Regions from separate parts of the Homo sapiens genome. Here region 1 is linked to region 2. The links are contacts of gene promoters, found by promoter capture Hi-C in human tissues and cell types (Jung and others, 2019). All regions are on one chromosome and are shown on one strand. The core of a region is centred on a gene start or on the middle of the fragment in contact, and the rest is flanking DNA. Distances in the headings are between cores, read along the strand shown.

The links. Contacts are between HindIII fragments. The study calls those that stand out against the background at their distance.
Region 1: a fragment that was not itself captured here is called in contact with the fragment with the promoter of RBM24 in region 2 in 1 of the 25 tissues and cell types used here (stomach).

The regions. Positions count from the first base shown.
Region 1 is chr6:18,288,456-18,293,377 of GRCh38, forward strand. No RefSeq gene overlaps it. Among named protein-coding and RNA genes, the nearest start is that of DEK, 26 kb to the left of the region's middle. The HindIII fragment of the contact is 3,481 bases long and covers 1,699-4,922 here.
Region 2 is chr6:17,278,059-17,282,993 of GRCh38, forward strand. RBM24 (RNA binding motif protein 24) reads left to right here and starts at 3,303. Exons shown (of 4, transcript NM_001143942.2): 1 at 3,303-3,691; 2 at 4,747-4,870. The coding sequence starts at 3,524. The HindIII fragment of the contact is 10,579 bases long and covers 1-4,935 here.

The DNA of each region.
Region 1 (4,922 bases), core at 2,189-4,688, 1.0 Mb after region 2:
TAAAAATACTACTATCTAGGCTGGGCATAGTGGCTCACACCTGTAATCCTAGCACTTTCAGAGGCTGAGGCAGGCTGATAGCTTGAGCCCAGGAGTTTGAGACCAGGCTGGGCAACATAGTGAAAACCTGTCTCTACAAAAGATACAAAAATTAACCAGGTGTGGCGGCATGCACCTGTAGTCCCAGCTACTTGGGAGGCTGAGGTAGGAGGATCGCTTGAGCCCAGGAGGTTGAGGCTGCAATGAGCCATGATTGTGCCACTACACTGCTGCCTGGGCAACAGAGTGAGACCCTGTCCCAAAATGAATGAATAAATAAATAAATAAAATTACTACCTAATATTATTTCAGAAAAGACAGAAAATACTAACATTTAAAAATTGAATAACCTAACTTTGTGAGAAAGTTAGTATCTCAGTGAAGATTTTCTTTTCCTGCTTAAGAGTGTCTTTTCCCCGCTGGTTGAAGGTTCCATCTCTCCTTGTTTAGGGATTTGGCTTAATCAGTTTTCTTCTCTCAAATACTTTCAACGTCTTCTTCTCTATTGACTCTTTTCCATTAGCAAATAAGCATAGTCTACTCACCTATCTTAAAAAAAAGCACAGGTCAGCTGGGCACGGTGGCTCATGCCTGTAATCCCAGCACTTTGGGAGGCTGTGAGGGTGTTTGGTCAGGAGTTCGAGACCAGCCTGACCAATATGATGAAACCCCGTCTCTACTGAAAATACAAAAATTAGCTGGGCGTGGTGGCGGGCACCTGTAGTCCCAGTTACACGGGAGGCTGAGACAGGAGAATGGCCTGAACCCGGGAGGTGGAGGTTGCGGTGAGCTGAGATCGCACCACTGCACACCAGCCTGGGTGACAAAGTGAGACTCCGTCTCAAAAGAAAAAAAAAAACACAGGTCAAAGTTAGTGAGAACCTAAATGAAAGTTGTGGCAGAGGGGATTGGGAGGAGGGGCTAGATGGGATAGATGGGATATAAATAGTGTTAATGGGACTTGGTGACTGATTGAATACGGCAGGTGAGAGATAGAGGGAGGAATCTAAAAATAAATCCTAGAGACCTGGTTTGGGTTTATGGTACACGGTGCAGTCATAGAAAAGGAGGAGCAGGGCTGGGAGAATGAAAACCTGTAACTTCAGTCCAATGTGCCTTAGGGTGTGTAGGTCAGGAACTCTGACTCTGCCTTTGAATCCTGCTCCTGTATCCTCCTAACTAAGCTTCCATTCTACCTCAACACCCATTGTCATGACTCCTTTTCATAGTTGGCCCTTAAGCCTTCATTTCTGGGGTTATTTAACTATTGGGAGTTCAAACCCTGCTTCCTAGAGTTTGTGAGCCAACAGAATGTGTTTGTTTGTTTGTTTTTGTTTTCATTTTTGTTTTCTGAAAACAAATGAAAATGAACTAGTTGATAGAAATATGAGTACACTTGTAAATAGAGGATGTTAAAATGGAACTGTTTTAGTTTCCGTGTTAGCTGTGGCCTAAGACAATAGAAGCCGCCTTCCAAAGTCAGGTAAGAATACAAAGCAGGTGGAAAAGGAAGCACAGGAGAACAGGTCAGCATTGTCCTCCAACCAGGTTAGCTCACTGACCACATCCAGCCAATGAAACAGGTAGGAGAGGCCAAGAAGATAAAGATTAGAAGATGATTTTTAGAGAGTTGATGATGGGCTTGAGTCCCTCCCTCCTGGCCACCATGGGAGAGGGGTGTAAGGTCCTTGCCCCTTCAACCTACATCTAGAGATAGGAGTTTTATGCAGACCATTTGGAGTACTTAATGTGCATCCCCCCACAGATTGAAAGGCATAGTGGACCAGTATGCATGCCTGAGAAATCTAAAGAACAAGAGACCTGCTGGCTGGCTCCTCTGATGGTGGAGCAAAAGAGATGTAGCACATTGTCTTATAGTTTGATAGAGCACAGAGTTGTTTCCCAGAGACCAAAGGTAGACCACACAGGTCACTGACGGGGCCTGGGGTCATCTCAAATCATGTGTAAGCATGCCTTTTGGACCCCAGCAAGAAACAGCCATAAGTAACCATCTGCAGAAAGCAATCTGCAGGTGAAATATCTCCAGTGATGAGAGTGGGCTGGGAGCGTCTCTACTTCCCAACTTCCCATCTCCACCACTACCATCCCACCTGGGCTCAAGAGAAGAAGTAAGCTTTATTTATTTATTTATTTATTTATTTTTTGAGATGAGTCTCGCTTTGTCGCCCAGGCTGGAGTGTAGTGGCACAATCTCTGCTCACTGCAACCTCCGCCTGCCGGGTTCAAGCAATTCTCTGCCTCAGCCTCCTGAGTGGCTGGGATTACAGGCGCCCACCACCACGCCCGGCTAATTTTTTTGTATTTTTAGTAGAGACAGGGTTTCACCATCTTGGCCAGGCTGGTCTTGAACTCCTGACCTTGTGATCCACCCGCCTCGGCCTCCCAAAGTGCTGGGATTACAGGCGTGAGCCACCGCGCCCAGCCCGAAGTAAGCTTTAAATGCCCACCAAGCCTGTAGATCACCAGCCTTAGGTCATTGCAATTGTCTTAATCAAGGAAGAACTTTCCTTCTGCCTCTTCCTCTCCCTACCGCTTCCCCAGAATGAGGGATTAGTATCAGAAACTGGGGTTGCCTAAATTAGCAATCTAGCTAAGGAGAATACAATCTTCCCATGTCTACCTTCCCCAGTACAAGTGGCTGGCGTTCGTTCATTCAGCAGGCCACAGCTGAAGGAGGAGGAGAGGTTTAACTTCACATCAAGTTGGAAGAGTTGGAGTGCTATATTAGATTGGACACATCGATTACAAAACTGTGACTGATTTTCTGGACTTGGGGTGACTTGAAGTGTTTTCATCATTTAAGAATAATTAGAAAAGTCATGGCAAGCTGGCTGCAGTGGCTCACGCCTGTAATCCCAGCACTTCGGGAGGCCCAGGTGGGTGGACTACTTCAGCCTTTAACTCCTGGGCTCAGGGAATCTGCCCACCTCAGCTTCCCAAAGGGTTGGGATTACAGACGTGAGCCACTGCACCCTGCCCGGATCTTCTTTACTCAGATTTACTCAAACTTCAGATGTTAATCTCTCTCTCTCTCTTTTTTTTTTTTTTTTTGACAGAGTCTTGCTCCATCACCCAGGCTGGAGTGCAGTGGCATGATCTCGGCTCACTGCAACCTCTGCCTCCTGGGTTCAAGCGATTCTTCTGCCTTAGCCTCCCAAGTAGCTGGGATTAGGCACCTGTCACCACACCTAGCTAATTTTTGTATTTTTAGTAAAGATGGAGTTTCACCATGTTGGCCAGGCTGCTTTCAAACTCCTGACCTCAAATGATCCGCCCACCATGGCCTCCCAAAGTGCTGGGATTACAGGCGTGAGCCATCGCACCCGGCCTCAGATGATAATCTCTTGCACAAACACCCTCACAGATATATCCAGAAATGATGTTTGACCAACTATCTGGGTATCCCATAGTCAAGTTGACACATAATATTAATCATCACAAAGAGACAGTGGAGAAAACAGACCCCTTCGGTATAATAGTCATGTAAAACCATCTATAGATTTTCAGTGATATATGATTAGCAAAAGGATAGAAGAGAAGGGCAGAGATGGCTATTTTATGAATTAAACGTATTCACAGAAATGTCACAATAACTTTTTATTTCTTAAAATGATGCTAGGAGCATTTAAATCAGTTTACGTATATATTAGGTAATTTTATTTATTTACTTTTTTTTTTTTTTTTTTTTGAGATGGAGTTTCACTCTTGTTGCCCAGGCTGGAGTGCAATGGCACGATCTTGGCTTACTGCAGCCTCCACCTCACGGGTTTAAGCGATTCATCTGCCTCAGCCTCCCAAGTAGTTGGGACTACAGGCACGTGCCACCATACCTGGCCAATTTTTGTATTTTCAGTAGAGATGGAGTTTCACCATATTGGCCAGGCTGGTCTGGAACTCCTGACCTCGTGATCCGCCCGCCTTGGCCCCTCCCAAAGTGCTGGGATTACAGGCATGAGCCACCGTGCCTGGCCTATTTACTTATTTATTTATTTATTTATTTTTTGAGATGGGGCTCTGTTGCCCAGGATGGACTGAAGTGGTGCTATCATGGTTCACTGCAGCCTTGAATTCCTGGGCTCAAGCGATCTTCCTGTCTCAGCCTCCTGTGTAGCTGGGACTACAGGCATGTGCCACCATGCCTGGCTAATTTTTTAATTTTTTGTAGAGATAGGGGTCTCCCTATGTTGCCTAGACTGGTCTTGAACTCCTAGGGTTAAGCAATCCTCATGCCTTTAATGCTGGGATTATGAGCATGAGCCACCATGCCTGGCCTACATTAGGTCATTTTATTTTTAAAAATTATTTAATAAATTATTTATTTGTGAGACAGGGTCTCACTCTGTCACCCCGGCTGGAGTGCAGTGGCATGATCTTGGCTCACTGCAACCTCTGTCTTCCAGGCTCAAGCAATCCTCCCACTTCAGCCTCCCAAGTAGCTGGAGCTACAGATGCACACAACCATGCCCAGCTAATTTTTAAATTTTTAGTAGAGATGAGGTCTCCCTATGTTGCCCAGGCTGGTCTTGAACTCCCAGGCTCAAAGGATCTGCCTGCCTCGGCCTCCCAATGTGCTGGGATTACAGGTGTGAGCCACTGTGCCTGGCCTACATTAGGTAATTTTAAAATGAGGTTTACAATCTGTTCTACAGCTGGGGAAATGATCTGAGATATTGCCTGGGTGTAATAAGCACATAAGACATTCTTCTCCTTCTGTTCCAGAGAATCACAGAAGCAATAAACAGCTAAGATTTATTGTTCACCATTTGTATTCTGCTACTGATCAATTAAAACAAAACAAAACAAATGTGTGTGTTCCTGTAAAACAATAAAGATGATGCCCATTAGCCAATAAAATGTAGAAT
Region 2 (4,935 bases), core at 2,053-4,552:
AATTATTCTAAAAGGCTGTGAGCCTGAAGTTGATTTCCATGATTAATTTAAGAGGCAAGGGGAGAAGAGAAGACAGTTATACATGAATGTGAAACTTGTGAGTTTGGTTCTGGCCTTTATAGTCAGATAAAGATTTTGAACAAAGTGGACAATAATTTACAGTAAGTAATAAAATAATATTGATCTTGCCATGGAGTAGGAACCAAAACTTCAGGCCCATCCATATGTACTAATTTGGAGATGACAACCTTGTGGAACCTATTTATAACTTTTACAGTATTTTATGGTTCTTTCTTTCCAAAGAAGCACACATTATATTGCACAAGGCCTGTGAATATACAAGTATTCTCTGCCAAAAGCAGCTGACAAAGCAAAAGGATTATCCAAGCATTGTTTTTCAAACCTGAATTTGTAATGAGTAATTGTACAGAAATATTCGGTACTTAACCTTGAAACCTTGAATTCAGAAAAACTTTATGGCCCCAAGGCTACATGATTTGATGGCTCAGATTCGTAAATCCACCAAGAATGAGGATCTGGCCATTTTAACTGTGTCCACCTTGGTGCAAATGTAAAACAAAACCCACAGGGGCAGCAATGATGCCTACCACAGTGCTTGCCTGGGCGAAGGGAAGGGGGTCTTGATGAAAGTTTGTTGAGATGAACTGGGTATGAATTCTGGCTTCCGTTTAAATACGTTTGGAAAATAAGGAATCTCCATCCCTCTTAACCTTTGTTCTCAGTGACTCACGTAATACCAGTGTATTAGTAATGTTTTAATTATCCCTGGAATTCAAAATTAGGGACCGTCCAGGCAAAGTTTCAGGCAAAGTGATCAAGTATTTACTGTTCCCTTGAAAGAATAAAAACACTGCAGTCAGGGGTTGCACGGGATGGGAGGGACAATGACAAGGAGGCGTCTTATTTCCAGAAGCTGAGTTCTAGGACACAAGTATTCCAACCCGGGATCAGAATTTCCTTGTAGATCTCACCACTTTACCTAGTGAACATCCTAGCTGCTGGCTACACTCCCAGACACCCTCCTTCCCTGATATTATCACAGTCCTCTCCAGGGTGGGCTCCCAATCCAGGTAGGAAGAAAGGCGAGACAGCCAAAGGCGCCCTTCTAAGGCTTCTCTCTAAGCAGCTTCCCTTCACAAAAGGGTTTTGCCTGAGCCTCATCTACGTACAGTAATTCTTAAATGACACAAGATGGATGTTGAATATTAAAAAACACGCCTCTTCTCTTTCCCCGCCTGCTTTGTTTTTCTAACTTTTAAAAATTATCTTTCATCATACCAGCACAGAGAGTCGTTTTTGAACCTGTCCTTTAACTTAAGTAATGAAGAGAGGGTGTTTACAATTTCACTTTCTGGCTCTCATCTGTCTGTAAAATTCTTTATTATTTTTTTAATCGGGTGAAAAAAATGTTTTTAACTTTAATAGATTTCTGATTTCTCTATATCTCCCACTGGGGGTTCAAACTTAAAGAAACCAGTGACGTCAAAAAGTCAACCTCATGAGGAAGTCAGCAAGATGAAAAACGGAATTTAATGTTTTGCACAAGAATATTTGCATTCCCATTAGCCTTTGCAAATGCAACATTTCTCACCCTCTTGGGTTGACTGCAAAGGTGTCCTGGAGAGAAACAGAGTATGCACCTCTCTAACGGTTAACATACTGAATTGTTTTAATGGAATAAATGGTGCGGCTCAGGGGCGATTAATGTAGGGACTGTAGACTCCCGTAGAAAGGACTTAAAAGGCAATTGTGCACCAACAATGGTGGATGAAACCTTCTGCTCACATCAAATATTTTCATCCAAACCTCAAGTATGACTGATTGATTTTAAGGCCTAATTGAATGAATTCTCAATTAAAAGAAGTTGCAAAAAGCTGATGTAAAGTAATAAATATATATGGGGTGCCCTATGTTCTACAAATGCTTTCAGGTCTGCTGGTAGAAACCACTGGTTATGCAATAAGTTGATTTCAAAAATTATACCTTTTACATTTACATCCAGATAAAAACAGATGAGGTCAAGCCACTAAACATTCTTGTAATTCAAAGAGAAAGAAATAGATTAATTCTTTGTTTAGGGAAAAAAAAAAAAAAAGAACGACTTATGCTAAGACATCTGTACCAATCTTCCTGAATAACTAAGTTAGGGAGGAAAGACAAATTTGGTGACTGTGGGGGCTAAAATACTAACTTATGGTCCTCTGAAATAGAAGGCGGTGCCTGATGGACATAGGTATCTCCGGTTACTTGGTTTGGCTGGGCGGTAGCAATTAAAGCTAATGGTTTTCCCAACTACACCCAAGCGCTAGATCTTTCTTTTCCTTCTGGCTCTACCTCTCTGATACTTCCCCGCACTGGCTTTTTGGGGCCAAAGAAAGTTGGGGCCCTCCTTCTCACTCTTCAGACCCCAGGGTGTCCAGCTTGGGTTTCGTTCGGCCGAGCTCCTTGACCCCCCGCGCCCGGGAGGGGATTGGCCTCTCAGCGAATCGCCCCAGGCCTCTGGGGACCCCAGTTCGCCAGTCCAGGTCGCCGGCCCTGTCACCGAGGCCTAACCCAAAAAGCTCGCGTCGTCCCCTCTGGAAAGCAACGCAGCTTCCTCCTTGGGCACAGTCCCCGCACCCTGGGTCCCGGCTGGTGCTGCGCCGGGTCCCTAAGACTTTGACTGGTTAGAGCAGGCGACGCCGAGAGCCAGGCCGCCTACAGGCGTCTCCAGCCCTACCCCATCGCCGGCTACAGAGCGGGAGCCCCGAGCCCCAGCGCCGCGCCGCGCGGGGAGAGAAGCAGCTGTTCCCAACAGCTGGGGGGCGGCGGCGCCCGGCGCCCCAGGTGCTGCCGCGGCCAATCGCAGGCGTCCGGCCCGCCCCCCTCCCCAGCCGGGCGTCGACCCCCGGCCCGCGGGGGAAGGGAGCAGAGAGGTGGAGAGCTGTCCTCGGCACTCGTCTTCCAGATCCCACGGCGGGAGGGACAGACCAGAGCCGAAGCTGCGCGGAGTTCCTCGCCCCTGGCCCCGCCGCCGCGCCCCCCGCCCGCTTCGGCGCTCGGACGCTCTTCCCGCGGACCCTCCCCACACCCCACCCAAGGCACCTGATTCCTAAGGAAGAAAAATCTACCTCTAAAGCACCCGCTTCTTCGCTTGAGAACTACCCTCTCTTTTCATTTTTGGCCTCCCCGCCGGGTGAGTGGAAACCGCTTGCACATTCTATAGAACCCGATTCTAATCCAGACGATCCGGAGAATTTGTACGGTGACCGGCAGGGGGGGCGGGAGGAGAGAGCGAAGTCAAGTCTCCAGGGCCGCTGGCGACTTCGGAAGCCGCGCGCCCGGCGCTCTCGGCCGCCCCCGGCCGCTCGCCCCCGCCGCGCCGCCGCCCTCGCCCCCGGGCTCGCCCTTGGCCCCCGGCGGCCGCGAAAGGGTGCGGGAGACGCGGAGCCGGAGGAGGAGGCGCAGCCGCTGCCCGAGCCGCAGCCGCAGCCGGAGCCCGAGCCGCGGGGCGGGTGCGAAGATGCACACGACCCAGAAGGACACGACGTACACCAAGATCTTCGTCGGGGGGCTGCCCTACCACACCACCGACGCCAGCCTGCGCAAGTACTTCGAGGTCTTCGGCGAGATCGAGGAGGCGGTGGTCATCACCGACCGGCAGACGGGCAAGTCCCGGGGCTATGGATTTGTAAGTTGCACGGACTGGGGGTGACGGGGAGGGACGGAGTGGCGGCTGACCCCGGGGATCGGGAGCTTGGAGTGAGGGGCTCGGCGTGACCCGTGAGGAGCCCCGCGGGTAGAGCGGCGCTGCCCCTTCGCTCCGGGGTGAACTGAAACTTTGCTAGGGGAGAGGGTCGGCGCCAGCCTCGCGGGGTTCGGAGAAGACCCAGCGCTGTGCGAGGTCGGGGGCCGGGCAGGGCAGAGCAGGGGTGAAAGGAGAGACCTGTAATGACGGCGGGATTTGGGGTGCGGAGGGTTGCGAGGGAGGGGCCGCAACCCTGAACAATTGCATTCCCGGGCTGGATGCCGGTTGTTAAGCGCGCTGTTGCTTTGTAAAAATGCGTGTGTTCTGGTGTTTTGGCTGGGGCAGGGAGGGGACACCCCACGAGGTCTGGGGCTGTTGCCCTTGTGTCATCCCCCCGCCTTTTAACTGCAAAGGTAGGTTCTTTTAAATCATGATCCTAGGGCTCTTTGCCGAACTGAAACAGAGCATATTAAGCTTCCTTCCTAGAGATTTAAGCGTGCAAATTCAGCTGCCGAAGAGCAGGGAGCCCCAGAGTAGGACAATAGCTATTGTCGTTGGGGAGTGTTTTCGAGGTTGGGAGCGTTGGGCGGATGTAAGGCTGGACTTTCTTTAAAGCAAACGGTGCCTCTGAGGCTGAGTAGGGACCTGGGGGGCGGGGGATTCGGGGGAAGGAGGATCTAGAGTTCCAAGAATTTAGGCTTCCAAATCTCGGCTAGGCCCTACTAACACCCTTAAGATTTCGGCGGTGGGGTGGGGGGAGGCAGGGTTAGAGGGTTTCTTTCTTTTTTCCTTCGTCTACCCGCCCCCCCCCCCCACGCCCCCGCCCGCCTGTTAAAAATGGGAGATCAAGGAGGAGGGTCCAGCCAAAAGAAGCAAAGAATAGAAAAAAAGTTTGATCTCAGTTTTATCATGAATGACTTCTCCATTGTGATTCTTGATTTCCTTCATGGGTTAATTTAGAGGTTATGTATGTATGTCTGTGTGTGTCTGTTGCTAAGGTCACCATGGCTGACCGGGCTGCTGCCGAAAGGGCCTGCAAGGATCCCAATCCCATCATTGATGGCAGAAAGGCCAACGTGAACCTGGCATACTTAGGAGCAAAACCAAGGATCATGCAACCAGGTGAGAAATGTCTGTCTCCCCTACCCCCCTCTCCAAGAACCCCCCATTTATGGGTGGGATGATTC